Linked DNA regions of Homo sapiens: region 2 is linked to region 1. The links are contacts of gene promoters, found by promoter capture Hi-C in blood cells and fetal thymus (Javierre and others, 2016). All regions are on one chromosome and are shown on one strand. The core of a region is centred on a gene start or on the middle of the fragment in contact, and the rest is flanking DNA. Distances in the headings are between cores, read along the strand shown. Region 1 holds the start of RADIL (Rap associating with DIL domain). Region 2 has its middle 79 kb from the start of FOXK1.

Region 1 (5,167 bases), core at 2,441-4,940:
CCCTGCGGGGTGGGTGGCTGGCCCTTCTCCTGTTCCTATAGCCCACTGCGGACACTTCACCACGGCAAAGGCTTTCGCTGTGCCTGGCTTTCTGAAGAGGTGAATTTGCTGTAACAGGTCACGGAGTTCCCAGTACAGGTCATAAGCAGATGGAGCCTTGAGGTTCCATCGAGCCAGGCCATAAAGGAGTAAAGGAGCAAAGCCTTTGTTTCTCTTCCTCTGAGGAAGGTGCAACGAGTGGCCTTGTCAAATCCTAAGAAGCTCAGAGCCGGCCGCAGCTTCCCCCACGGACTCATCAAAGGCCTCGGTTTCATTTACAACAAAAGCATTTTCAGACAGTGCTCACATCACAAACGTGCGGCCTGGCCTGTGCACACCACACCAGCGGCTTCCAATCGCCCTCTAGTCTGACCTCAGTCTCCTGTGGTCAGTTTTCAAAGTGAGTACTTGGAATCACAGAACAAAACCCCTCAAAGAGCCTCTCCAGCCGGCACTTATTAACCATCCATGAGAGCTGCACAACCCTGCTCCAAAGCACCTCTCCAGATGCCCCAGGCTTAGAAGCCTCCAGGCAGCACACACTGGCAGAGGGTCGGCCACCACCTTTTCATAGTGCTCATTTCCAACGGGTTCCCCAGGGTGCAAAGGCAAAGTGCAGGTGGTGGATGGTACAGCCTCTGCCACCAGGCAGCTGTGGCTCAGGAAACCTCTGCCTCCGGAGATGAAGTCTGAATGCTGATATAAATACGATACCAAAAACTGGGGAAGCCCCCTCCAGGCAGGAGAAAGCCCATATCACAGAAAAGTCATGAAGCAGAGCCAAGTATTTAAAAGGCCAAGGCAGGAGAATGGCTTAAGGCCAGGAGTTCAAGACTAGCCTGGGCAACATAACAAGATCCCAATCTCTACAGAAAATAAAAATAAAAAATTAGCTGGGCATGGTGTGCACCTGTAGTCCCAGCTACTCGGGAGGCTGAGGCAGGAGGATCACCGGAGCCCAGGAGTTCCAGGCTACAGTGAGCTATGATTGCGCCACGTCACTCCAGCCTGGGCAATGGAGTGAGACCCTCTCTGTTAAAAAAAAAAAAAAAAAAAAAAAAAAAAAGATGGCTGGGCACGGTGGCTCACGCTTGTAATCCCAGCACTTTGGGAGGCTGAGGCGGGCAGATCACGAGGTCAGCAGATCGAGACCATCCTGGCTAACACTATGAAACCCTTTTTCTACTAAAAATACAAAAAATTAGCCAGGCGTGGTGGTGGGCACCTGTAGTCCCAGCTACTCGGGAGGCTGAGGCAGGAGAATGGCGTGAACCCGGGAGGCGGAGCTTGCAGTGAGCCAAGATCATGCCACTGCACTCCAGCCTGGGCGACAGAGTGAGACTCCCTCTCAAAAAAAAAAAAAAAAAAAAGACAAAAATTGGCTGGGCATGGTGGTTCATGCCTGTAATCCCAGCTCTTTGGGAGGCCGAGGCGGGCAGATCACTTGAGGTCAGGAGTTCAAGACCAGCCTGGCCAACATGGTGAAACCCTGTCTCCACTAAAAATACAAAAATTAGCTGGGCATGGTGGCGGGTGCCTGTAACCCCAGCTACTTGGCAGGCTGAGGCAGGAGAATCGCTTGAACCCCAGAGGCAGAGGTTGCAGCAAGCCGAGATCACGCCACTGCACTCCAGCCTGGGCAACAGAGTGAGACTCCGTCTCAAAAAAAAAAAAAAAGACAAAAATTATAAAAAGGCCCCCAAATACAATGGAAAAGTGAGTTGATATTTGGGGCCCAGGGGTGGATATATGTTTTGTAAGGTCTGACATTTACATAATTCTTCTTTAATAAAAAACAAATAGAAAATTACAAACACACAACTGCTAGGTCTCCTCCCAGGGTCTTAGAAGCTTGAACTTCAGAAATGTTGTTCCCCCCACTTCCCCCCACCCCTGCTTTTCCCACAGTTTCCGGAGCCGGATTCGAAGGCAGAGGCAGAGTTAGCAGTATCATGAAACAGGAGAAAATGTAAGCAGAGAGAATATGATTGACTCCTTTCCAATAACTCCTTCTTAAGCCCCCAGAAGTCCCTGTTACACAAACCTTATCTGTTTTGGGATTTTCAGAAAGCATTTCTCTCCGTTTGGTCATCCTCCCTTGGCCAGACCAGAGGGTGCCCACTTGTTCACACGCTGCCCGCTTCCGAATCCCAGAAGGCGGAGCCTGGCCTGTTTGTGAGAATGGGATGGACTCGTTTTTTAAAAGGCCAAGGGGAGTGCAGGAAAATCCGACCGGGCGGAGCACGCCCTGGGTAACAAGATCTGTTTTTCTGGAAGTGCGACCGGCCTCTTCTGCCCCATTCGCTCCTCTGTGACACAAATACTTGGGGAAAGCGCAGGGCTCGGACAGCGAGGGTGTGGGGCGCTGGCTGGTGCTGCTCTTAGAGAATGTTTTCTCTTGTTCTCAAGGAAGGGTCCAGTTTCTGATGAAAAACAAGCTCAAGTCCCAGCGGCGAGTACAGGGAGTGAGGTCAGTGCTGCGCTGACGACATGGGTGGAGCGACCTCTCTGCTCCAACAGGACAATGTGGAACCCATTATCATTTCCAGCAGGAGGGAAAACGAAGCGCAGACTTTACACACTCAGCTCTCTCCCCTCCTTCCATGAATCCTATCTTTACAGCCCCAGCCCGAGCCACGCTTTCAAATGCAAACATAATTCAATCAGATTTAATTCTGACCTGCTAGCTGCTGGAGAGGAGACCGACTTGCCCCCCAGCAAAAGGGACTTTCAAGACTGGTTCCTGTCTGGAATGCACAAGAGGTGGCCTATATTAACCGCGGGACACGAGCAATCAGATTCTTCTGTGCAATTCAGATTAGCCAAACACTTGACAGGCGACAGGGCAGGGCAGGATGGTCCGCAGCCCCGCCAGGGCCCTGCCAACCCCACCAACAGGCTCCTCCTGCGAGGCCCCAGGAGCTCGGCTCAGCATCTGTTATCTTGGATGCAGTATTTGTCGAGGGGCTGGAAATGGTACATAAATAGCCGGGAAACAATGCTTTGAGCTGGCGCACGAGTGGGGATCGGGCTGCAACCGGGACGGGGTATGTGCAGGGGACGTCTCGCCGGCCCAGGTGGGAGAGCGCGCGGAACCCTGCGCCCCGCTCCCCCGCTGCGCCCCGCTCCCCCGCTGCGCGCCCCGGACGAAGCTCCCCCTCCAGGGCACAGCCGGGAAAACTGAGGGCCGAGAGTCCCCTGGAGTTGGGGGTCCGGGGCCCACGCGGACAGCCAGGCTCAGGAGCTCTCGGGGGTCGGCAGCGCGGACCCCCGGATCCCCGCAGGCTGGGCCGCCCTTGCCCGCGCTAGCCGGCCTCCGGGTACCGCCCCCCGGTCCAGGCCGGGGCCCGACAGCCAGTCGGTTCCCATGGCAACTGGGCAAACCTGCCCTCCGCGCCCCGACCAGCGGCCGGGAGTGTCCCCGAGCGCGCCCCGCGGCCTCCGCGCCCCAGGTCCCCGGCAGCGGCCGAGCAGCGCCCCTTACGAGCCACCCCCGGTTCCGCAGTCACTCCTCGCGCACCCCACACTCACCTCCGGCACAACCCGCCGCGCCGCCACGTTCCCGCGCTGCTCCCACCCGCCGTTGGCTGGGGCCGGCGCCCAGACCCGCGCGTGCCGCGGCGCCTCCTGCCGGCGGCGCAACGGGCGGGGCGGGGCCTCAAGGGGACGGGGCCACAAAGGGTGGGGCGGGGGAGAACAGGTGGGCTGGAGCTGGGCCTCGGCGCCCAATAGGCAGAAAGAAAGCCTCGAGGAGGCGGGGTCTCCAGGAGAGGGGCGGGGCCAACCTGCTAGAAAAGGCGGGCTGTGCTCTGGCGCCTCCTGCCGGCCGCCCAATGGACGGGGATGCAGCCTCGAGGGGGCGGGGCCTCACCGGAGAGGCGGGGTTTTGAAGAAAGGGGTGGGGCTGGTTGTGGAGAGGCGGGACTTGCAGCCCACCCACAGACTGCAGCTTAAGGAGGGGGGGTCCCCGGAGGAAGGGTGGGACCAGTTCTAAGTCCCTGAGCTGCTTGTGGGCTCTGGGCTCCTGCGGTTGGGTGGGCTATTTCGAGACAGCACCTTCTAGTAGCCCAGTGAGTGGGTGTAGGGGAGGGTAGAGCTGTGCCCCCAATTAATAAACATCTTCTAAGACATCGAAAAGGAACAAGGGAGGAATTTCCTCTCCCCTACCATCTGTCTCCCACCCAGAGTTTTAAAAGACAAATCAGGTCATGGCATTCCTGCTTACAATTATGCAAAAAAATGACCAGGTCAGCTCTGGGGCTCTGGCCCCAACTGCTCTCCCTGGGGACTTGTTTAAAAAGCAGCTCGTGACCTCGGCACTTTGGCTGGGGTTTTCCCTTTGAGGAATGTGGGCTAGACCTGGGAGATTCAGGTGGTTCGGAATATCAATATGCAGAATGTGGGCCTCGGGAGTGAACCTTTTTGTGGACAGCTATCGTGGTATGATTTCCGTAGTCATGACCCCATATTCGCGATGGAGGTCGGAGCAGACATTGATGAGTGTGGGAACAGACATTTATTGACCACCTGTGTGCCAGGCCCTAGGCAACTTTACCTAGGTCACCTCACTTAATGCTCACATCAATTCTTGTGAGACAGAGATGTCTGAGACATTCCAGGCCTCCCCTTTCCTCCACCTATCACCTGCTAATCCTAAAGTCCACCTCCTAAACCTTTTCTAATAAAAAATAGTGCCTCAAAGTCAACACAGAGAGACAGATTTGAGCCAGGCTCCTGTCTCCTTATTGATCAACTCACAATACGGACAAAAAAAGCTTTTGTCTCAAAAACTTAATGCAGTAAGATTGGCTTTTTTTTTTTTTTTTTTTTTTTTTTTTTTTGGAGACAGAGTCTTATTCTATTGCCCTAGCTGGAGTGCAGTGGTGTGATCTCAGCTCACTGCAACCACCACCTCCCAGGTTCAAGCGATTCTCCTGCCTCAGCCTCCCGAGTAGCTAAGGTTAACAGGCACCTACCACCACGCCCACCTAATTTTTGTATTTTTAGTAGAGACGGGGTTTTGCCATGTTGACCAGGCTGGTTTTGAAATCCTAACATCAGGTGATCCACCCACCTCAGTCTCCCAAAGTGCTGGAATTACAGGCATGAACCTCTGCACCTGATCAAG
Region 2 (5,498 bases), core at 1,892-4,391, 280 kb before region 1:
GAATCCCTTGAACCAGGAGGGCAGAGGTTGCAATGAGCCGAGACTGTGCTACTGCACTCCAGCCTGGGCAACAGAGTGAGACTTCGTCTCAAAAAAAAAAAAAAAAGAAAGAAAAAAGAGAGAAGAAAAATCATCTCTTGGGTGCTGTGGGTATTGTGTTCACTGGGTGACAAGATGGATAGAAGCCCAAACGTCAGCATCGTTCAGTACACTCACACATGAACCCCCTGAATCTAAATTGTTTTTTTTTGTTGTTGTTTTTTTTGAGATGGAGTTTCACTCTTGTTGCCCAGGCTGGAGTGCAATGGTGCAATCTCAGCTCACCGCAACCTCCACCTCCCGGGTTCAAGCAATTCTCCTGCCTCAGCCTCCCAAGTAGCTGGGACTACAGGTGCACACCACCACGCCCTGCTAATGTTTTTGTATTTTTAGGAGAGACGGGGTTTCTCCATGTTGGTCAGGCTGGTCTTGAACTCCCAACCTCAGGTGAGCCACCCGCCTTGACCTCCCAAAGTGCTGGGATTACAGGCGTGAGCCACTGCCCCTGGCCCTGAATCTAAAATTTTTTTTAAGAAACAACTCAGGACCGGGCACGGTGGCTCACGCCTGTAATCTCAACACTTTGGGAGGCCAAGGCAGGCCGATCATGAGGTCAGGAGATCAAGACCATCCAGGCTAACACGGTGAAACCCCGTCTCTACTAAAAATACAAAAAATTAGCCGGGCGTGATGGCGGGCGCCTGTACTCCCAGCTACTCGGGAGGCTGACGCAGGAGAATGGCGTGAACCCGGGAGGTGGAGCTTGCAGTGAGCCGAGATCGCACCCACTGCACTCCAGCCTGGGCAATAGAGCAAGACTCCATCTCAAAAAAAAAAAAAAGAAAAGAAAGAAAAAAGAAGCAACTCAGAAACAAAATCAAATATGGCATGTTCTTATTTATCAGTGGGAGCTAAATCACGTGTACCCATGGACATAGAATGTGTAATAATAGACACTGGAGACTCTGAAGGGTGGGGGCAGGGGGAGAGAGGAATAAGAAGTTACTCAATGGGTACGATGTACACTATTCAAGTGATGGTTACACTAAAAGCCCAGACTTCCCCACTGTGAAATATATCCTTGTAACAAGAAAACATATCCATGTAACAAAACTGCACTGTATCTTTTAAATTGATACGAATAAAAACTACCACCGGGAGGGCGCAGTGGCTGACGCCTGTAATCCCAGGACTTTGGGAGGCTAAGGTGGGTGGATCACCTGAGGTCAGGAGTTCAAGACCAGCCTGACCAACGTCGTGAAACCGCATCTCTACTAAAAATACAAAAATTAGCCAGGCATGGTAGAGCGTGTTTGTAGTCGCGGCACATTGGGAGGCCGAGGTGGGCGGATCGCTTGAGATCAGGAGTTCGAGACCAGCCTGGCCAACATGGCAAAACCCCGCCTCTACTAAATATATAAAAATGAGCCGAGCGTAGTGGTGGGCGTCTGTAATCCCAGCTACTCAGGAGGCTAAGGCAGGAGAATCACTTGAAGCCAGGAGGTGGAGGTTGCAGTGAGCCGAGACGGTGCCACTGCACTCCAGCCTGGGCGACAGAGCAAGACTCCATCTCAAAAAAAACCCAAAAAAAGCACATGATAGAATGTGTGTTTATTGTGTTGTACATGCTCATGTGTTTATAGCTGTTTCGCTTTTATAAATGTGGATGTATTGTTTGCAAATGCCTTATATGCAAAATTAAATGTATGGAAGTTCACAAGTCAAAAAACATGGGATAAAAACATAATTCAGCCAGTAACATGGGGAACCACTGAGAATGAGTACCTCTTCACTGCAACCACAACACAACTTGCTGCCCTGCAGCTTCCGGAATATTCAGCATGCAGATAAAATTATGCAGTTTCTAAGATCCCTTTGACACATTCAGGATTTTATCTGGAGATGGAAGGCAATCCCAGAAAAAGAAATCATGTCTTTTCTGCAAATGAGAGTGAGAATATGGTGTGTGTCAGCATGTGCAAACCCAAATCATCTATCTTCAAGTCTTAGGGTAGTAAATCACTGACTGTAAACTTCTTTGAAAAACACCAAGCCTGTGGATTGGAAGCAGTGCTAGAATTTGTTTTTCGTGGTCTGTCTTTCTTTCTTTCTTTCTTTCTTTCTTTCTTTCTTTCTTTCTTTCTATCTTTCTTTCTTTCTTTCTTTCTTTCTTTCTTTCTTTCCTTCCTTCCTTCCTTCCTTCCTTCCTTCTTTCTTTCTTTCTTTCTTTCTTTCCTTTCATTTTCCTAACCTAAAGCTTAGAGTTGCAGACGTTTTTGATGCACACTGCCAACCTGCTCTCCCTCCTGATGGGAACCATTCAAACTCCCTGGGAAAGACACAGGGACCATTGTATCCACTCCCTGGTCCCTTGTCCTCATTTCCTACTGGTTGCCTGGCCTGAGATTCTGGTCCTGACCCAACCCTTGCTTCTCCACCTTGCCTTATTTGGCTTCAGGAAGCAAGTATCTCAGGTACTAGGCTCTCCCCAGAATACCCCAGACGAGATCCCAATACGAGGCACAGCTGAGCCGGAGCACTCCCCTGCCCCGTGCTGACCCAGCTTCCTGCACCTGTGTGGCCCCAGCATTCCCTGCAAAGCCTTCCCCATGAGGCAGGCTAGGCCTGGGCCCCCAGTCAGCTTCCCAAGTCCCACGCCGTTGGGGGCTCCCCCTGTCAGCACAGCACCTCCTCCCTGATGTGTCTCCTGGCCCACTTCCTGGAATGCCCAGGCCGGCCTCCGCCGGGCCACAGTCACCTTCTAGCAGCCCAAGCCACAGTGTCCACCGCCTGCCCTAAAACTCCAGGGCTCCCCACATCTGCAAAGATCGGACGTCATGGCTTGAAATTCAAAGTCCTCCTTGATCAGGTCCCAACCACCAGCCAGCCTTGTCTCCCTTCACACACTGCACAACACACACACACACACACAATGCATGTGCACACACCACACATACACGTGCACACATGCATGCATACCACACAAGCACATGCACACATACACACCACTCACAAACACACATATACACACCACACACGTGTGCTCACATACACACCACTCACAAACACACATATACACACCACACACGTGTGCTCACATACACACCACTCACACACATACCACACACGTGTGCTCACATACACACCACTCACAAACACATATACACATCACACACGTGTGCTCACATACACACCACTCACACACATACCACACACGTGCTCACATACACACCACTCACAAACACACATATACACACCACACACGTGTGCTCACATACACACAACTCACAAACACATATACACACCACACACGTGTGCTCACATACACACCACTCACAAACACATATACACACCACACACGTGTGCTCACATACACACCACTCACAAACACACATATACACACCCCACACGTGTGCTCACATACACACCACTCACAAACACATATACACACCACACACGTGTGCTCACATACATATGACAAACTAGCACGTGTGTGCACAATACACACATACATCTCACACACGTGCATATACACAACACGCATGTGCACGTACACACATTACACATCTAAGCACACATGTGCACACATGCACATATGCACACAACACGTACATATATACACATACACATATCACATGCCTGCATGTGCATACATGCACACATACCACACACATGCAACACATAACACACATACACCACACACACAGGTACACACATACCACACACATAAGCATGCAGAAATACATACACATACACAATCACACACACACATAAGCATACATCACTCTCACACCCCCGCACACAACCACCACCCTCTGAACCAAACCCTGCCTTGCCTTTTCCCTGCAGGCTCCTCAGCCTGAGACCCCCCGCATTGCTTCTCTTCTCCATTGTTCAAAACTCTACTCACTTCTCAAGCCCCAAGTCAAATGCCACAGCTTCCCCGAGAAGCTTCTCACTCGCCCTAGCTTGCTCTGTGCCCTAGGAGGAATAAACCCTCAAGTCGTGATCATTTGTCCTGGACATTGCCATGCAGGGCCTTCAAAACACCTTCCCACAACTGCAAGGAATTCTCCCCTTGGAAGCCAGGACTCAGCCTCCCAGACACCCTCGAGAGCCGGCACCTCGCACAGGTGCCGCCCATCAGATGCATCTCCACAAGGCCCCCACCCAAACGAGAGCACCTGAGGAAGGACACCACCCTATGGAAAGCGATATGGGACTGAGAGGCAGCCATAACAGAGCCCTGGTGGGGCATACCCCACGTGGGGGGCCGTGGAGAGAAAGTGGTGGGAGGAGCGTCTCCATGGGGTCCTGTGGGGTCACACGGGTGTTACACTGGCTCAGCTGATTCTCCTGCCTCAACCTCCCGCGCAGCTGGGACTACAGGCCCACGCTACCATGCCCAGCTAATTTCTTTAAATTTTGTGTAGAAATGGGGTCTCACTATGTTACCCAGGCTGGTCTTGAACTCCTAGGCTCAATCAATTCTCCCACCTCAGCCTCCCGAAGTGCTGGGGTTACAGGCGTGAGCCGCTGTGCCCAGCCCATGGCCTCCATTTCTGATCTCTGATCTCTGTCCCAACCCCTTCCCACCCAACACGTCACTAAGCTACCTAAATTCCTTTCTATCCAGAGTGGCCTGTGTGGTTTGCAACTAGGAATCCTGCCCAAAATGCCTGCTCCCTCTGGGTTCCAACTGGTGCCTCTGCTAGGGTGTCCTGCTTTGGGGCGCCATACATCATTTCAGGGTTGTGTCTGTGGATTTCCAGCTATGCTGCATATGCCTCAAAGAGAGGCTGTCTTCGTTTGCCAGCTCTGCTCCTCTCCATCTACCTTCCCTTTCTTACCTGGTGTATCAGTAAGGCAAGCCATTGTAACAAACAAGCCTCAAACACTCAACAGCTTAAATGCCAGGCATGGTTTTTCATGGTTTGCCATCCCAGCACTTTGGGAGGCCAAGGTGGGAAGATCACTTGAAGCCAGGAGTTCGAGACCAGCCTGGGCAATACAGCAAGATCCCATCTCTACACACAAAAAAATAAAAATTTAGCCAGGCATGGTGGCATGTGTCTGTAGCCCCAGCTACCCAAGAGGCTGAGGCAGGAGGATTGCTTGAGCCAGGTCAAGGCTACAGTGAGCCATGATCACACCACTGTACTCTAGCCTTGGCAACAGTGGGACCCTGTCTCTAAAATTTTAAATAAAATAAAAATGTACTTCTCACTCACGGAACAGGCCAAGGTGGGGGTGCTCTGCTCCACTCGGTCATGCAGGGATCCACGATCCTTCAAGTCCACATCTGAGGAGTTTGTCTGCTGTGTGTGTGTGGGTGTCCAATGCCTCCCAGCTGGCCATGGGGAGGCTCATGGGACTGCAGGACACAGGGCAAGCATGTGTGCTGTGACTCTGAGCATGTGGGGATGCCTCTGGCAGTAGGAAAACAGGTCCCACGGAGG

The links. The method cuts DNA at HindIII sites, captures the fragments that hold promoters and counts their contacts. A CHiCAGO score of 5 or more calls a contact.
Region 2: a fragment that was not itself captured here is called in contact with the fragment with the promoter of RADIL in region 1 in 1 of 17 cell types (naive CD8 T cells); the score reaches 5.3 in naive CD8 T cells.

The regions. Positions count from the first base shown.
Region 1 is chr7:4,880,026-4,885,192 of GRCh38, forward strand. It overlaps RADIL (Rap associating with DIL domain), which reads right to left and starts at 3,691. Exons shown (of 15, transcript NM_018059.5): 1 at 3,571-3,691. RefSeq lists enhancers at 2,393-2,687, 2,417-3,105, 3,106-3,793 and a silencer at 3,503-3,722. The HindIII fragment of the contact is 2,924 bases long and covers 1,889-4,812 here.
Region 2 is chr7:4,600,488-4,605,985 of GRCh38, forward strand. No RefSeq gene overlaps it. Among named protein-coding and RNA genes, the nearest start is that of FOXK1, 79 kb to the right of the region's middle. RefSeq lists an enhancer at 3,799-4,300. The HindIII fragment of the contact is 1,694 bases long and covers 2,295-3,988 here.